Linked DNA regions of Homo sapiens: all the other regions are linked to region 3. The links are contacts of gene promoters, found by promoter capture Hi-C in blood cells and fetal thymus (Javierre and others, 2016). All regions are on one chromosome and are shown on one strand. Each heading gives the region's core, a stretch centred on a gene start or on the middle of the fragment in contact. The rest is flanking DNA. Distances are from core to core; before and after follow the strand shown.

Region 1 (3,518 bases), core at 843-3,342, 500 kb after region 3:
GAAAAGTAATACATCAACCTGTGTAGTTTAAGAATGCCCACAGTTTCCACAAACACTAAGGAAATTCATAAGCCTCCATTCATTAATCCTACTTCTGGCAATTTATTCCAAGGAAGTTATTCAGCAGAGATGAAAATGTTCACTTGCAAAAATACACCAGTATAATCCATAAAAATTCCAGAGACAGTCTAGATCCTCAATAGCTAACAGGAAAATAAACTAAGATATTGTCACACAGAGGAATATTTACGTATTTCTTTAAAAGTATAGTTATGAAGGTCATGTACAGGGAAATATAGGAAAGAGGTATGCTTTAAATGAAAATAACAAAACATGTACGTTATAACTGTAAAAATGCACATAAATACAGAATAAAAGGAAACAAAAATAAAACAATATTTGTATTATGGTTATAACATTATGGATGATTTTTAATTTTCTTAAATTGTCTTTAATGTTTACACTCTATTAAACTGTCAAAAGCAGGTGATGATAGCATTTTTTTAAGTTTCTGAGACTTGCTTTACCTGTACATATAGGGGGTATAAGTGGTCCAGCTCCTAAAGAGCTCATAAATATACTAAAGACAACATTTACATTTGTAGCAAAAAGAATGTGTTATTTAAAACAATAGTAACCACAGCCCCCAAAAAATGAGAATCTCATTTGTTGTTGTAGAGTCAAACAAATATGAGTGTCTACTATATATTCCAGCCACAGTTCTAGCCACTGGGGCTATAACTGTGAATAAAATAGACAAAAATTCTTGCCTTTGTGGAACTTAAATGCTAGCAGTATGTATATACTGCAAACATATACAACAGACAAGATAAATATGTAAAATATATAGCATATTTTATAGTGATAAGTGCTAAGGAGAAAAGTAAAGTCTGGAAGGTAGACAGGATGCTATTTTGAGTGGCAGGGGCCAGGCACAGTGGCTCTTGCCTGTAATCCCAGCACTTTGGGAGTCTGAGGTGGGAGAATCGCTTGAGCCTAGGAGTTCGAGACCAGCCTGGGCAACATAACGTGACCTTGTCTCTACAAAAAATATTAGCCAGGTGTGGTGACGTGTGGCTGTAGTCCTAGCTACTTGGGAGGCTGAGGTAGGAGGACTGTTTGAGCCTGGGTGGCAAAGGTTGCAATGATCCAAGATGGTGCCATTACACTCCAGCATGGGTGAGAGAGTGAGACCCCGTCTCAAAATAAATAAATAAATAAAAATAAATCGAATGGCAATAGAAGGTCTCACTAAAAGGATGTCTGAAAAAAGACTGAAAGAGTGGGGAGAGTAAGCAATGTGAGTATCTGAGGAAAGAGCACTTCAGGCAGGGGAAACAGCAAGAGCAAAAGCCTTGAAATAGAATGCCTACCCAAGGATGTGAATGTGCCAGTAACTGGGACATATAATTAATTAAACAACCTGTACTCAGTTCCCCCTAGCAGACCACAGACAGCTACACAGTTCTCAGAACACTGCTCTGGGCCTGATCTGCCTCAGTTGGGTTCAGTACACAGCTACTTTGGCTGGCAAATTCTTCAATGCTTTTTTTTCCATCCAAGGTTGCTTAAGCATCTCTTTTTTATTTTGAGGATCCAAACGGGGCCATATAACATCTACTCATGGGTAACTGTAAGGGTCTCAAGCCGCTCTAGCCCCTCACATGATTCATGCTTGCACTTTGCAAAACACCCAGTGCGCCTGTGAAACTGAGAAAAGTGAAGCCAGCCCCTTCTAGAGCTTGATTTGAATGGGGCAGATTTAAGGAAGGAAAGCTGAATTTTGAAGTTTGCAGGAAAGTTGTAGAGGGGTTAGCAGTAACGTAGTGCAGGGAGTAAGAAGCTGGAGATATAAGGACACCCAATGGGTAAAGAAAGGCCCAGCAGCAGGCAACAGGGCTGAGACTCAGGACAAAAAAAAAAGTCAAGAAATTTCCAGCAGTGGGAATGTCCAAAAAACTTCTAAATAAAAGCATTTTAAGCTGTTCACTATGCTGGGATATAATCCCTACCACTCCTCCCAAATTTTCAATAAAGCCCTACTATAAATATCTGCTTTGTGATTGATTCTTTAGAGAAATCAAGGCAGACGCCAAAGAGACAGGCTCAAGAGACAAGATGTAAGTACCTTCTAAAATAGAGCAGAAAGTGCTCCAAAGGAAGCGAAGTAAGATGTCACTAAAAGAAACACAAGCTCCCTGAAATTCCTGAGAAATATTTAGGAGAGGAAACTGTGTTCCCACCATTTACAGAGGGGGGCTTTTAAAAGCAGGAAACTCACCCCATAAGCAGGTGGACTTTGGTAGACCTAGCTAGATTATAACCAGTCAAGCAATGAATAGATAAAACAATAAAGGTATTTAAATGCATGCTTCAGAAATTTTAAAAGAGGTGATCATCATTTAGATCATCTGGAGTAGTTAAATAACACTTCATGGATAGGGTGACCCTGACCTAACCCTTCAAGGATGACAAGAGTTGGAGAACAGGGATATCATAGAAAGATATTCTAGGTATGAGTAACAGCATGAATAAAGCTCCAAAGCCAAAAATGAGTGTGGCCTGTTCAAAGAACAGTGTAGAAACTGTCCTATTTGGAACAGAGAGTACCCATTGGCAGGCAATGGCATATAAGATTAGCCAGGTAAAGTAAGACCAGATTGAGGGAGGCTCTGAAATCCAAGATGAGAAATCCGAACTCTATTTGACAAGCATTGATAAGAAGCGAAAGAAACTGCTTTGTTCTGTTCTGTTTTTTAAAGATAATAAAATACTATGGCTATACAGACTGGTACCATTCCCTGCCTTCTAAAATTGGCCCACTGATTTCCCACTACCCAGGTCAGGTTATATATGCTCAGGTACACAACTATTACTTCTGCAAAAAGAATGTTTCTATTCATGTTTGTACTAGGCATCTCCAAATGCCTGTCAATTACGCTTAAAAGTTCTTCAACTATCCTATGTCATTTATCCTCTCTATAAACACTGTCTAACCCATGACAGAGCCGAACTAGGGAATTAAAGATGACTCAGTTCATGCCCTCAAGAAACTCAGGATCTGATGTAGGCAAAAGCCAAGAAAACAAACTAGTACAATACAGAATGGTAAGTGCTAGAGTAGGGGATACCTAGAGCAGTAGTCTCCAACCTTTTTGGCACCAGGGACCAGTTTTGCGGAACACGATTTTTCCACAAATTGGGGTTGAGTTGGGGGATGGTTTCAGGATGAAACTGTTTTGCCTCACATCATCAGGCATTAGATTCTCATAAGAAGTGTGCAACCTAGATCCCTCACATGTGCAGTTTACAACAGGTTCACGCTCCTATGAGAATCTAATGCCCCTGCTGATCTGACAGGAGGCGGAGCTCAAGTGGTAATGCTCGCTTGCACAGGCTGTGCAGCTGGGTCCTAACAGGCCACCAACCTGTACCAGTCCACAGCCCGGGGGTTGGGGACCCCTGGCCTACAGTATCATAAAAGCAGAGGACACTTACATCAGTTTGGAAATCAGAAA
Region 2 (3,166 bases), core at 369-2,868, 310 kb before region 3:
GCAAACTTTGAAGAATCCTTTTCTGATCAAAACCCTGAGACCCACAGTGTTCTCCAACCTGTGCCATATAAACACCTACCGGGTCCTCTCTGGTGCAGGGAACCACAGGAAAGAAACATGTTGGTAGTCCAGGGGGAAAGTCTTGAAAAGCTACTGAGCCAGCCATGTCAGTCCTTACCAATTTTCATTTTTCTCTGTGTTATTTTCTGGTCCTAGTCAGCAAACAGAATAGCAATGGGTGAAACTCCTGACTTTCACCTTAGAAAACTGTGACCGTCATACTAGTTATATGTTCGGAAGAAAACTGCCTTAGTTCTTTTAAGAATTGGAAAGGATTAGCATTCTTCCTAATTGGTCTTGGTAAATCCCCCTGCCCACCCACACATACACTGTAGCTGCAAAATAAGATTATACAAAATGATACTGTCATCTCTACAAGAAACTGAAAAGCCCAATAACATACTCCATTCTTCTGGTATTTAATGTGGCAATAAAATTACATACTTTTAAAAACTCATTTTCTCCCAAAAACTCTAGAAGTATGTATTGTACTCTTCCATATCTCATCTGCTTGACATTGTACAAGCAATTAAACTGGCTCCTTTCTGCCTCAGAATTTTTCATATGACACATGCACTGTAAGTCTGATTTTTTGTTTTCTTTTTTTGCCATAATAAAAAAGAAAACAAAGTTGCCCCTATCTGCTTTAAGGTTATTAACAGCTTAGAAACAGTGATTAGCAGAAAAATAATTATGCTCTAAATCTAATACTAATCTCTGCCCCTCCTTAGCCCCCCAGAACCTTAGTTAATAAGCTTAATTCACAAACTGATCATTCTCAACAAACATCTATGCCCTAGAAAACTTAAGGCTTGCCCCAGAAAACTAAAATCTCCATAAGTCCAAGGGTGTTTTCATGTATTCTAAAGACCCTACCAAAAGGGTCTTGCCCTCTTGTTCAAGTTGATACAAATTGACTACTTGTTGTTTCTAACCAAATCATTCTGTCTTATAGTAAGTGTATCATTTTCATACCTAAAACACAAACTGAAACAGGTTTCAAACCTTATGCTTCCTTACAAACATCAGAAAGTAAGCTCCTAAACACATTCCAAACAGAAATTCAAACTAGAGAAACTTAAACTTTTAGAACTCCAAATTCACACTAATGCTATTTTTAAGGTTTCATTCTACTTAATAAAATACAACACACAACAGAAACTCTATAAATGCAGTCAAATAACAGAAGACATTTTTAAAAAAAGGTAAAATTTAAGAGAATGGGTTTTTCAGGATTCACTAAGAGCCCATTAAGAAATTGTTTACATACCATATACATCTGACCTTCCCTACACTTGTGTTTTTTTTCTTTGCAATTGTTATATATCCTCAAGATACAACTTTGAAGAAAACCACCAAGAAACCTTCAGCACCCTCTCATACTTGGTAAGACAAGACTGTCTCCTCTTGCTCCCAGGCAGCTCCCAGGCAAGCATACACCAGTGCTTGTTTTATGCTTCAGTTGGATTTTTACATAAGTTTCAATGTAGCTTCAGAAGAAAAAAAAAAAAACTAAAAATAAATGAAGCTAAAAGTAGCAATCTCATCGGTTTTATAGAAGTCAGCTCAATACTGACAATCAGCATAAAACCGAGCTGAGCAGATTTAGAGGGGTCAATGTGTGACAGTCATGATTCATTTTATAAGAAGGCCCAAACTAATTTGAACATTAGTGTTGCTAAAATACAAAAATTCACTCTGCAGCTTCTGTGAAAACCTATTACATGATATTGGGTTCTCCCATCTTACAACTTTTTTATCTGTAAGATTCTTTCCAGAAGCACAACTCCCACATATAACGAACATTGACTATGGCCACATAATCTGTGTCACTCAATTTCCTCATCAGGAAAATGGTGATACAATACCAATCTCACGCCTCTCATAGATCCACACATACATGCACAAACACTCCCCTTTGGGATTGTTCTGAACATAAGTTGGCTCACACTCATATCTTTTCTCTGGGTGCTCATTATCGCTCTTTCTGCACAAGTATTTCCTTGCTTTCCAAGAACTATTTTCCTGATGCAACAGCCCCATCTCTCTATTAAGGAGCATGATGCAGTGCAAAGGCCCATACACCTGGAGCCTGGTGGTTATTTAACCAGTCTGAGTATCAGTTATCTTCTCTGTGAAGTAAGACCAATAGTACCCCTCATCAAGTAAGATGCATTTCAAGTATCACGTACATGGCAGGTCACCCCATCAAATCTGGCACCTGGACTGACTACAATGCATACAGAAAAACAGAATATCCCTAATGTGGTCTATCCACAGCCCTCCCTTGTAGATGGGAGTGTAGGGACTTACTTAATTTGCACCCCTAAGAGATGGTTATGCCTCTTACTAGAAGCTTACTATAACCATTGTAAAGAGATCAAAAGGCAGATAAAATCCCCTGAAATTCTCAGCATAAAATTAGTCCAGCTAAATGGAATCCAATTATTTAGCTTCTTCAATCTTACGGCCTTAATAGTTGATCCTTGGGTTAGCAGTCTGAGTCTTGCTGGGTTATCTTGTTACCAGGAATGCAATTCCTCTGCAACATTCTCCTGATTCCAGTGGCAAAAGGGAGAACCTTATTTGGGGGAGGCCAGAAAAGAACTAGTGTTTAGAGTGTTCTGGTATCAAGTGTGTATCCTCCAACCCAAACTGACAGTGATGGTGAGTGGTAGCCAGCAGTCTGCTGCATGTTTACTGTGGTCTGTTAAAGAAGTCCTTACTTTGTAAAAAGATGTTACGAAAATCATGGGAAAAAAAAAAAAGGCCTTTACCTTACCCCCTTAATTCCCACTTGTGAACATCAAACATCCCCATTTCAATCACTGAATTATTCTACCTCTCAGCAACAAAATGTCCTAAGTTGTTACACTGAATTCTTTTATAATTCAATTACTTATTGATGCCAGAACATGGAATTAAACTAATTAGGAGGCATGGCTTGAAAGTCATGCTCAATTTAACAGCAGATAAAGGGTTCACAGTGTTCTCAAGATTAAGAAACTGTTTTCTTTCTATGCTTACATTTTTGGGTTTTCTCTGACCCTTCAGCAGTGTTTTATGCTCAGCTGTGTACTAATGACCCAGACCATTACCAGTTCTT
Region 3 (3,192 bases), core at 378-2,877:
ATTACTCCCTTTGGACAAAATTAGCAAGTCATTTATAAATCATTTCACTTTCCTCCCTATTTGCCTCCTCCCGCTTCCTTCAGGTTCCATCCCTCAAAGTCATTGGGAAAAGCCTTGCAAACTGGATAGCAGTTTTGTGCATTTCCGGTTCAAGCTGCCTTACTCACTTTTTTTTTTTAATTTAAAAAAACTTTGGATTTTTTGTAGAGACAGGATCTTGCTATGTTGCCCAGGATGTTCCTGAACTCCAGGCCTCAAGCAATCCTCCCACCTCGGTCTCCCAAAGTGCTAGGATTACAGGCATGAGCCACCACACCTGGTTCACCTTACTCACTTCTATTCCAGGACGGTTCAACTATGATGTTTTGGCTCCTCTTCTCAAGCAGCTTTCCACACCTGGTTCCATGATCTCTTCTGGCACAGTAGCTGGTATTTGGCAAACATAGGTTTCATCCTGGGATCTCAGGGATTGAAATCTGTCCTAGGTGTGCACCAGAAAGTGGTGGCAAGAGATGAAGCTTCGGAGGAGGCTGACCTCGGCCAGGATTCTTAAGTCTCAAAGTTTCAGCTTTCTCACCCCTCAACGGACATGAAATCTACCTATTTGTAACTCCAGGGAAGTAAATGAGATAATGTTTGGAAGATATCTAGTCTACCAGCTGCTCAGGCGGGGGGCGAAGGTTCTGTTCCCTGTCCCTTCTCTATCAAATGGCTTTAAAATCAGAAGAAAGTATTACGGGTAGGAAATGGGACTGCGAAAAAAATGGAGGCTGATTCTGGCCTAAAGGATACTTATCTCTATACAAAGGGCTTCTGATTCAAAGAGGCCCCGGGATTCAAAAACACAAGCAGAGCTACACCACGTGGGGTTTGGGACGAGCTGAATTCCGGATAAAGATGCCTGTAAAGAGGAGTTGATGCGAATCCAGAAAAGCACTTGAAATGCCCAGGCTTTGCATGGCACATTCCCCAGGATTTTTTCGCACCGCATTTAGAGGTTTAGACGGAGTGAGCTCGAATCAGGCCAAAAGCCTTAGGTTACTCCTGGGCGGCAGCGGGGCAGAGGTCAGATCAACAGGTGTGGAAGGCTGCGAGGTGAGGGAAGAAGCAGGTGTCGGTGGAGGCCCCAGTTCCTCCGGCCCAGAGGCTCCAACGCTGCTATTGGTGTTCCAGCAGCGGGCGGAGGGGTCCTGCCCGGCATCTGGGCGCGCTGGGCCCAGAGCCCGGGAGGAGGCAGACGGAGGCGGCGGGTCAGCGGCGGGCCAGCCCCGGTGGGCTTCCGCTCCCCTCCGCCGGCCCGGTCCGGCCCGCCGCGGAGGATGCCTGGAGGTTGACGTGAATGGCCTGTGGCTGGGAAGCCCCCAGGCGCCCTGCCTAGCCCGGGGGCGGGGCCGCCTAGCCGCCGGCCCCGGTGGCGTGAGGGCTGGGGCGGGGGCCGGGGACCTCGCGGGGAGGGAGCGGGAGGGAAAGCGGCCCCCGCGGCCCTTCAATTGGCCGCACCGCCCCTCGGCGCAGAGGCGGGAGGAGGCGGCCCTCCATTGGTCGGGCCCGGCGGCCAATCCTCGAAGGCCCAGGCGGAGGCGGGGGCGGCCTGTGGGGAACCGAGGTGCGGGCGGCGAGCGAGGCAGCCGGGTGCTTCGCAGCGGAGCTCGAGGCTCTGTAGCACCCAGTTGGACCCAGTCGCCCAGGCACCGCCCGCGCCCCGCGGCCGTCTCCTGCGCCTCCCAGAGGAGGGAGTTCGAGCATCCCCCGCGGCGGCCACTCCTCGGGGCCAGGAGCGGGGAAGCGAAGTGCGAGAGACCCCGGACCCCAGCGCTGTCTCTTCCCGCCGCCCGAACCACCATGACCCACTTCAACAAGGGCCCTTCCTATGGGCTCTCGGCCGAAGTCAAGAACAAGGTACGCCTGGCTCGGGCGGGCGCGGGGGCCCCCGGGGCACCCTTGGGCTGGCCTGGCGCTGGGCCGTGCTTCGTTTGCTCTTCGCGCTGTGGCTCACCGTTTTCCTGGAGAGGGGCCGTCGAGGCGGCGCGAGCGTCTCTGCCTGTCCCGGTCGCGTCCAGTCCCCGGGCTTGCGGGGCCGGCTCCCGGGCACCCGCCTGGCTTTGTTCCCGCGCCGTGGGACAGGACTAGTGGCTGGCGGTGGGTTCCCGGGCGCCTGGAGTCCCGCGGCGCCAGCCTTTCCGGCTGCGGGGGTCTCGGGGGCCGTTTGGTGACTGCAGAACGCGCCCTCCGGGAAGGGGGCGCTCCTGCGTGGCCACTCGCCCTTAGGCGGAGCCCGTCTGCGCGGCCAGGGACCCGGCGAGCCGCTGCCGCAGCCCCCGCCATCTGCCCGGGCCCCGGGTGCTGGCGGACTCCGCGCCTCCCCACGGGGAGAGAGACCGCCTAATGTCCCGCCGACCCCAGGGGCCCCGAGGAACGGAAGCCGGTCCGGGACCCATCACAGTCTCCGATCTCGGTGCCTGGGAGGCATTTGGAGGCAGATTGCTGCTGCTGCTTCTGCTGTTGCTTTTGCGGGAAATGGAGACAAAGCCTGAGCGCGCCACTGTGCGAGTGATATCTGCTTAGGCTTGAGACTTTTTATGAAACACTGAGAAGTTTGAAGTACATTAGACTTTCACGACATAAAGGATTATTTTTGTGGGTTGCTTTTGTTTGGGGCTTGTTTGCTGAGGCGGCTTATAGTTTGGAGCGATTGGGATTTGGTGACGCTCAGCTTTGCCACTGAGCCCAAGAATGCGTTAGGTTTATCTTTAGGACTTTTGGCCTGGGAAAGAGATGAGAGGCGTCCCCCTCCCCAAATCCTCTCCTTCCTTCCTCCCTCCCTGCATTCCAAGCCCATGACATCAGGGGTTTCTGGGGGGAGAGACCAGCCAATCGGCGCGGAACTGTGCACAGAACGCTCATTGTCTCCTTTCTGCTGTTCTGGCCAAAGCGCCACAAAGGAGGGCTGCCTGTGGTTTAATTCCCATTAACCTCCCGGGAGCCCAAGCATGTCAGGATTGCCACCGCACCGTCCGACCGCTGGTGGAAGGCACTGGCATTGTCAGAGCTGGAACATCCCGGGGCTGCGGGGGTAGGCGGTGTGAAGCGAATTATGTAAAGAGGTAATGAAGCGCACCGTTGTCAAACCCCAAGGGAGAGTTGTGGCTCTTGTCTCCCGCTGTTAGTCTGCACATCATACTGTCTTTGAAG

Evidence for each region. Contacts are between HindIII fragments. The CHiCAGO score rates a contact against its expected background, and 5 or more counts as called.
Region 1: a contact is called between a fragment that was not itself captured here and the fragment with the promoter of CNN3 in region 3, in 1 of 17 cell types (total B cells). The highest score is 6.2, in total B cells.
Region 2: a fragment that was not itself captured here is called in contact with the fragment with the promoter of CNN3 in region 3 in 6 of 17 cell types (naive B cells, activated CD4 T cells, naive CD8 T cells and 3 more); the score reaches 7.6 in naive B cells.

Annotation. Positions count from the first base shown.
Region 1 is chr1:94,422,125-94,425,642 of GRCh38, reverse strand. All of the region lies in intron 1 of ABCD3 (ATP binding cassette subfamily D member 3), which reads right to left. Among named protein-coding and RNA genes, the nearest start is that of ABCD3, 5.5 kb to the right of the region's middle. The HindIII fragment of the contact is 5,695 bases long and covers 1-3,518 here.
Region 2 is chr1:95,236,823-95,239,988 of GRCh38, reverse strand. The region is part of intron 7 of TLCD4-RWDD3 (TLCD4-RWDD3 readthrough); the gene reads right to left. All of the region lies in intron 1 of RWDD3 (RWD domain containing 3), which reads right to left. Among named protein-coding and RNA genes, the nearest start is that of RWDD3, 4.2 kb to the right of the region's middle. The HindIII fragment of the contact is 1,601 bases long and covers 818-2,418 here.
Region 3 is chr1:94,925,545-94,928,736 of GRCh38, reverse strand. CNN3 (calponin 3) reads left to right here and starts at 1,627. Exons shown (of 7, transcript NM_001839.5): 1 at 1,627-1,899. The coding sequence starts at 1,843. CNN3-DT (CNN3 divergent transcript) reads right to left here and starts at 2,377. Exons shown (of 3, transcript NR_168377.1): 1 at 1,997-2,377. RefSeq lists silencers at 1,110-1,989, 2,090-2,519. The HindIII fragment of the contact is 4,662 bases long and covers 521-3,192 here.